Linked DNA regions of Homo sapiens: region 1 is linked to region 2. Evidence: promoter capture Hi-C in 16 types of primary human blood cells and fetal thymus (Javierre and others, 2016). All regions are on one chromosome and are shown on one strand. The core of a region is centred on a gene start or on the middle of the fragment in contact, and the rest is flanking DNA. Distances in the headings are between cores, read along the strand shown.

The links. Contacts are between HindIII fragments. The CHiCAGO score rates a contact against its expected background, and 5 or more counts as called.
Region 1: a contact is called between the fragment with the promoter of MBNL3 here and a fragment that was not itself captured in region 2, in 1 of 17 cell types (naive CD8 T cells). The highest score is 5.2, in naive CD8 T cells.

What each region holds. Positions count from the first base shown.
Region 1 is chrX:132,487,461-132,490,867 of GRCh38, reverse strand. It overlaps MBNL3 (muscleblind like splicing regulator 3), which reads left to right and starts at 1,830. Exons shown (of 9, transcript NM_001386889.1): 1 at 1,830-2,017. RefSeq lists a silencer at 982-1,551. The HindIII fragment of the contact is 7,236 bases long and covers 1-2,515 here.
Region 2 is chrX:123,960,683-123,964,095 of GRCh38, reverse strand. It overlaps STAG2 (STAG2 cohesin complex component), which reads right to left and starts at 2,390. Exons shown (of 35, transcript NM_001042750.2): 1 at 2,240-2,390. STAG2-AS1 (STAG2 antisense RNA 1) reads left to right here and starts at 2,755. Exons shown (of 2, transcript NR_130770.1): 1 at 2,755-2,907. RefSeq lists enhancers at 883-1,142, 1,233-1,332, 2,761-2,810 and a silencer at 2,301-2,440. The HindIII fragment of the contact is 2,082 bases long and covers 1,123-3,204 here.

The DNA of each region.
Region 1 (3,407 bases), core at 581-3,080, 8.5 Mb before region 2:
CACTTTGTGCAGAGCATGTAGAACTCTGTCTCTGGGTGAAGTAGCTGATTACAGGAAAGCAGCCATGAATTGCTATGAGCTTGTCACTGACGATCCTGCATATGTGTGCGTTATCAACTACAATTGTCTTCGTAAAATTAAATAAAAGCACGCATTTATTATTGTGGGGCTCCAATTAAGGGACAGCTGGTGCTCCTATTACACTTGCATTAAATCGAAACTTGTAATTTCCCTGTGCAGATGCACACTTTTTAATCAAGATATAAAATTGCATTTGCTTTGTCCATTTTCCAAAGTATCTGGAACCTTACCTCAGGGTTCCTCTTATCCTGCAAACTCCGTGGAAGAAGGGGAACAGATTGCACTGATCAGCATTTCCCTGTCTGAAATTCTTAGAGGGAAATAAACGATTGGGGCATTTATGAAAGATAAAACCCCCAAGAAGGCAGCTGGTGAGTATGAATGTATTTATTTAGCCTGTAGCGAGTGGACTTATTCATCGACTAAGATCAATTTTGAAAGGACCCATTTCGCCTCACCTGTCTGGGAAGTGTCTATGAGCGTCCCGCTGTGAACCACACTGCCTTTCTCACTGGCACTTCAGTTCCTGAAGAGCCAGAAACTTTGCACCCCTACCCCAACCCCGCCTCTGGGGATGTGTGCCTGCTTCGTTTGTTTTCGCTTTTGTAAAATCTGAGCGTTATGATTTGTCCCCCTTTCCCTTCCTAATGAAATGACAAAGGGTCTGTGCAGCGGGGGCTGGGCTGCTGGGTTTGGGGGCGAGGCGCCACACCCCCTGAGAATAAAGCCCGCGCTGCGCTCTCGGAGAACCAGGCACGAGTGAGCGAACCACACAAAGAATATATTTCGCGACGAAACAGCGCCCTACAGGAAGAAAGTGCCCGCACTCCGAGCGTGAGCCGCAGCGCGACTTTTTGGCGCTCTTTGGGAGCAGTGAGAGAGAGGCGGAGGCCAGAGAGTCCGGGGTGGGCGCGGGAGCCGGGGCGGCCCTTGGCCGCATTCCCGCCCGTCCCGCAGCGGCGCGCGGAGCCAGGTGAGGTTGGCGGCGGCGCCGCGCTACCTGGCCGGGCGGGGCGGGGCCGGGCGGCCGCGTGCGCCGCTTCCGAGTCCGGCGCTCCGGATGCCCGCCCGCGCTCCGCTGGCCCGCGGAGTTTCGCGGGAGTTTCCGTTTTGGCGCCTAAAGCCCCTCGCTGGCGCCGTTTCCCTCCGCGTGCCGCGTCTGTCCGGCGCGGGACGCACGGAGGCGCGGCCCCAGCCCGGGCTGCCTGGGGTCGGCGGGGCTGCGCGAGGGGACGTCTGGCGTCCGGCGGAGGGCACTGGCCCGGGAGGAGGGCACGCCTTTGGCAAAGGCCGGGCGGGGTTGGGACCGGGGTTGCTATGGTAGCTGCGAGCCCGGGCGGGAGCCCCACGCCCGGCCTCCGCGAGGGAGCTGGGGCGCTCCGAGGTGTGCTCCGAGTGGACTGAACCAAGAGCCTGGGAGGAGCGGGTAGGGCCGGCCCGTGGCCTTGTCCCCTCCTCCCACAGCCCGCCGGCCGGCCCCGGGAAGGGGCCTCGAGGAGCCCAGAAAAGAAAGTATTCTGGCCCCTGGAACCGAAAGGAGTCTTGCAAAAAGCACGAAGGGGTCAAGGGGGCCGAAGGGAGAGGGGGAACCGTCGCCTCCGTCCGAGAGTCAGCGTGCGCGTGTCTGTAGACTTGACATTTTATACCCCAGAGCGGCCGACTTGGAGCCGGGTTGCAAGTCCCAGCCCTGAAGTTCTGGAGGTGGGGCGGGCTTTAATTTGCTTATATCTAATGATTTCAGGAACCTCGCTTTAAAATGGCGGCATTCAGTATGCACCCCTGCTAAAGGCTCTCCCGGCACCGGGGCCACCTCGCGCAGCGCTGCTTTTGCTTCTGCCGCTAACAGATGGCATGTGCCGCTGTCGCTGCCGCTGCCCCTGCTGCTGCCGCTGAGAGCAGGGCCCCTTAGCCTCTGGGTTTGCGCTAGCAGCGTAAGGTAAGGCTGGAGATGAATTGGGATTTGTAAGAGAGGCTGCCTTCCTCGGACGCCGAGGAAATAATGCCTTTTAAACTTCATTTTACAAAATAGCAAATAGGAGGAAAAGTCATCCTGCAACTTTGTTGCGATTTTAGAGCTTTGATCATTTTCCTCCTCCTTTCCTCCTCCTCCTTTTTCTTCTTCCTTCTCTTCCTCCTCTTCTCTTCCTCCTCCCCTTCCTTCCTTCTTTCTTTTTTTCTACTTTCTTCTTTTTAATTTAAAGGAACTTCTTGCATGGCATATAATCAGCAAATGCTTTTTAACAACGAATTTCCCCATTTTCACGCGATATCGTGAGCAGTGCCACAGCTTCCTTGCAGAACCTTGTCTCTTCCTGCCCTGAGTCAACACGTTTGGGCAGCTCGCTTTTACTACTGGGGTTTGAAGGGCATGAGAGTAGATTTTAGGAGACTATTAAAAAGGGAACTTTAGTTTTTAACACTCACACAATAAGCTTTTATGGTAAGAAAACGAAATTAAACCCAGACGAGTAATGAAAGTTGACATTTAAGTGATTCTTTGTTGTGGTTTCATAATTAGGGTAATAGACCTACTGTGTGTTTTTCTGAGCACTCTTAGATAGCTAGCTAGCTAGCTAGCTAGCTAGATGATAGATAAAACAGATAAATTAATTGTGGCTCTAATTAAAGTAATATGTTTTAAAGGAGTTATTTTCTCCTAGATGTTCTTACATCGTTTGTAAATTGAGCTGGGATCCCCACAGCCTCTCCGTATTTGTGGGTAGACTTCATGGGAAAGAATCAATTAAAACAAAACTTGCAAGATTTAATTTTGAAGTGATTGGTACTTTTTTTATTAAGCGGACTCCCTGCTTTAGTGAATAAACGTTTGGGTGATTACTGATATAATGTTTGGAAAACAGATTGTTGGTATGTGGGAATGACTAAACATCCATGCTTGATACAATTTATCTGAATTTTGTTTTGTTTTGTTTCCCCCTCCAGTGAAAGGTAAATAGACAATGAGGCTTATCAGACACCTTGGATTTTTCCTGATTATATTTCCATCTTCTCCTTGGCCCATGAAAATCTAATCCTGAATGTTTAACTACTTTTTAAAATAATTTTTAACTTTTTTCTAATGTGCGATACTTTTGGGGGATGCTTTCATATTTACCAACACTTCTTCAAATATAGACTAAAATGGGCTTCTGCCCACAGCTCAGCTGATAATATTCTATCGCTGTTCACTCCTTCTCCCAAAGCAGTAGAAACTACTTGGTTGGCAGACGCTCTGCTACTAAATTTAGCAAGTGTGTGGAAAGGGAGAAAAATATTGTTTTGCCCTTATTAAAGCATGGTGCAGTTTTCTGCCCAGGTGCTGTAGT
Region 2 (3,413 bases), core at 914-3,413:
AATGTTTAACAGCACGCACAAAAGTAGAGAGAATAATAGTAACAATGAGCGCTTCTGTATTCATCCAGCTACAATAATCAACTCAAGGCCACTTCTGCTTCACACCTACCTCCTACCCACTCCCTCCTCTCATTATTATCTTCAAAAAGAATTAAGAGGAAGATACTATGTTCTCTAAGTACACTTCTACCCAAAGATAGCAAAAGTATCAAAAACTAGCATGTTAAGTCAAAATCCAACAATGTAACTATACAGCCGCCTTACGCCTTACACAATTCTTTGGTAGGTGATAAATTTAAGAATTCAGTTAAACACAAAGATATAACCATCTTTAAGAATTTTAATGAAGTCCATAAACCCAAAGGGCATATTTAAAATTATACCTAAAAAGACAAATAGGGAAATGTGATGAAAACGAACTTAAACATCTGCAATTAACTTACTTAACGTGGCACCTTAGTTCAAAATGAAAAAAAAAAATCGACTATTTAACATAATGTGTCATAAAACTGCAATTCAACCACTTGAAAAACTGCTGAACACTTATATACCTTAAACTGGTCCTTCTGATCCCTAATTATAGATTGATATCAATGTAGAAAGAAAACCAGGCATTTTAACGTTAAGTGGTTGAAAATGTTGAAAATTAACCCCACTGTTCATCGGAAAGTATATGAGAGCAAGCCTAAACTACCTGAATTATATGTCATTAAACAAATGCATCCACTTCCCAGAGCCTTTTTTTTAACAAAATAAGTTCAGATATACCCTTAAACGCAACGCGCTAGGCTACAGACAGAATTAGGAGACCGCCTCCTGCTTTTGCTCCTAACCAATACGCAGAGAGAGAAGGTTGGCAGAAAAGTGCTGCGAGGACAGTAACAAACACCAGCAGCTCCCGAGCAGGCCCTGCTAGAGCCAGGAATGACGCACTTCGGTAACCCGACTCTTTCTCCCCTCCACCCCCGCCCCCAGCAGCGGTGCTGACACCGCCAACAGCCCGGAGTAGGAAAAAAGACAACAGAAAAAAAGGCAGAGGTTGGACCGCACTAGGTTTCATCAAGAAACCTCGATGATTCCTCTTTCGACACTAACCACTAGGACTAAACAGGAAAAGAAGCTTCGTGCTTAAGCAAGTCCCATCATGGTGGTTTAAGAGTCACTAAATTAAGCTGATAATGAGTCCAATCCACAGAGACAAATACAGGGTGTGGCTGCTGCGAAATACGGCGGTCCGTGGGAGAAAAGGGGTATGGAATTTACACTCCAGTGTGAAGGGAAGATGGGGCTTTATGGTGGGAGAAGGGGGTGGCCCGCGCATTTTAAGGAACCATTGCAAACCAACACAAGCGCCTCGTTTACTTTAAATCTAACCTTACAGATCAAAAGTTTCCAATAGATATATCATGTAAACTGTAAATTACCATTTAATCCAACACCATGGCCCTCAATTTAAAAACTACATCCAAGAGAAAGAAGGAGGGAGAGGGAAGAGGGGTGGTAGGCAACAACATAAAAAACATTCTAGGCCACGGAAGAGAAAGTCTCACAAACCGGATGAAACTACTAATACAATATTAAAAATTAAAGCCGAGCACTGAAGCACGAAAATCACACGATAACCCATTACAGTTAAGGATTAAAAATAAAATGACATATGCACCAAGGGGGAGCGGAAACTAAATGTCGAAAGTACAGCGGTTTATAAAAAACTAAAGGCAAAACAAGACATTCTCGCGACGGGGGGAAAAAAAGGCCGAAATCAACAATACGTTCACAATTCTAGGCCAAAAGAAAATGGGAACGGGGCTCAAAGTTTTGCGGAACTACTTGATGCTGTTTCCCACACCTTCTCTCTCCCACGGCCCATCCGACCCTTTTCGTCCCAAAATCGCCGTCCGCAGATCTCCGGATCCAGGGGAGAAGAAAAAAGAAAGTCGACCCCGAGCAAGAATAAAAGTGTGGAGTGAAAACGCACAGGCTGCCTACCTGGGGCAAGGATCAGCTCAGTTCGTGCCTTGAGAAAGACAGTGCGGGTGGGGGTGGGAATGAAAAGCAGCACTAAAACTAAAACAAAAGTGGCGCCAAAACCCCCCAACAAACAGCCTTCCACTCCCGCCCTTCCCCCCTCCGCCCATGCCAGGCAGGCAGGGCCCCCTTCGGGGCAAGGTCTGCGCGCGGGGGCCAACACCGCCAGACCCCAGCCAATTTAGAAAATTGTTGCCCGAAGAAAACTGACCGAAGTCGGGCCTCGGAAGGGATGGAGAGATCGATGCCAATCGCCTTCCCCAGCAGTTCCCCCACCACGCGCTGGAGATGATGGGGCGGGGGAGAAGCAGAGGGGCCCGTCACATGAATGTTGTTCCCTCTCTAGGAAGGGAGGAAGAGAGGGAGGGAGGGGGGAGGGAGGGAAGGGAGGAGGGGAAGGGAGAAGGGAGGGGGCACGAGGGAGGGGTGTGATCAGAGTAGATTTTCCCTCGCCTCCCTCGGTCCGAGGCCCAAATATACACAACTGAGCCTCCTTTCTCCCCTCCCCCCTAGGTTCCCAGCACCACCATTTTGCTCTCTGCCTTCCCCTCACCGCGACACCGCGCTCTCCCCCACCCCAACCACAGCCTCCCGGCTTTCCTCCCCCGACTACGGCTCGCACCCCACCCCACCTCCAGTTCGGGCTCTCCTAGGCTTAGGAGCCTGCCGGAGAAAAGGAACCTAAATCTACTGCTACACAGAGAAGCGGAGCCTCCATCTTGCGCTGCTCCGCGTTCTCCATTTTGGGCCACCCATGGGGGGGGGGGGTCTCCGTAGAGGCCCCGAGGGAGAGTTGGGCGAGGGAAGGAAGAGAAAATCTTCAGCGAGGGTAGTCGAAAAGAAGAGCCCTGCGGTAGAAAGCCACTCTAGGAGTAGGAGGTAGGGAGGAAGGGGGGCTGGAAGTTCCTTGGAAGTGTTGGGGTAGCGACTTGGGGGGAGAAGGGAGAAAGGAGGGCGGGGGGCGCCGCGGGGGCGAGAAAGATCCTCCCGCCTGGACTCTGCCCCCCGTTCCATGGCTGCCCCCCATGGGGGCGAAGAAAGCAGAGGGGAAATTCAATGGCAACAGAGTGCCCAACCTCTTTCCCTCCCAACTCCTCTCTCTCGCCCTGTTTCAATCATACACACCTCACGGTGGGCCAAGCGCCCTCCGGGTGCCCCTCCAAACTTCTAGAAGCTTCGCCTCCGCCATTTTATAACTTACCTCCCCCCTCAGCGTACACAGAGGCAGCAACGAGACTGTTCGCCTCCCCCACTCCTCCTTCTTTCTCAGGCCGGGGGCTTCTTCACCCCTGGGCTGGTACAAGATATTTTTCCCCTTCCTCTTCTTTACACCCTCGAATTCTACTCAGGGACGGAAGCTCCCGCGGTTCTAGAGCGGTGGGGGG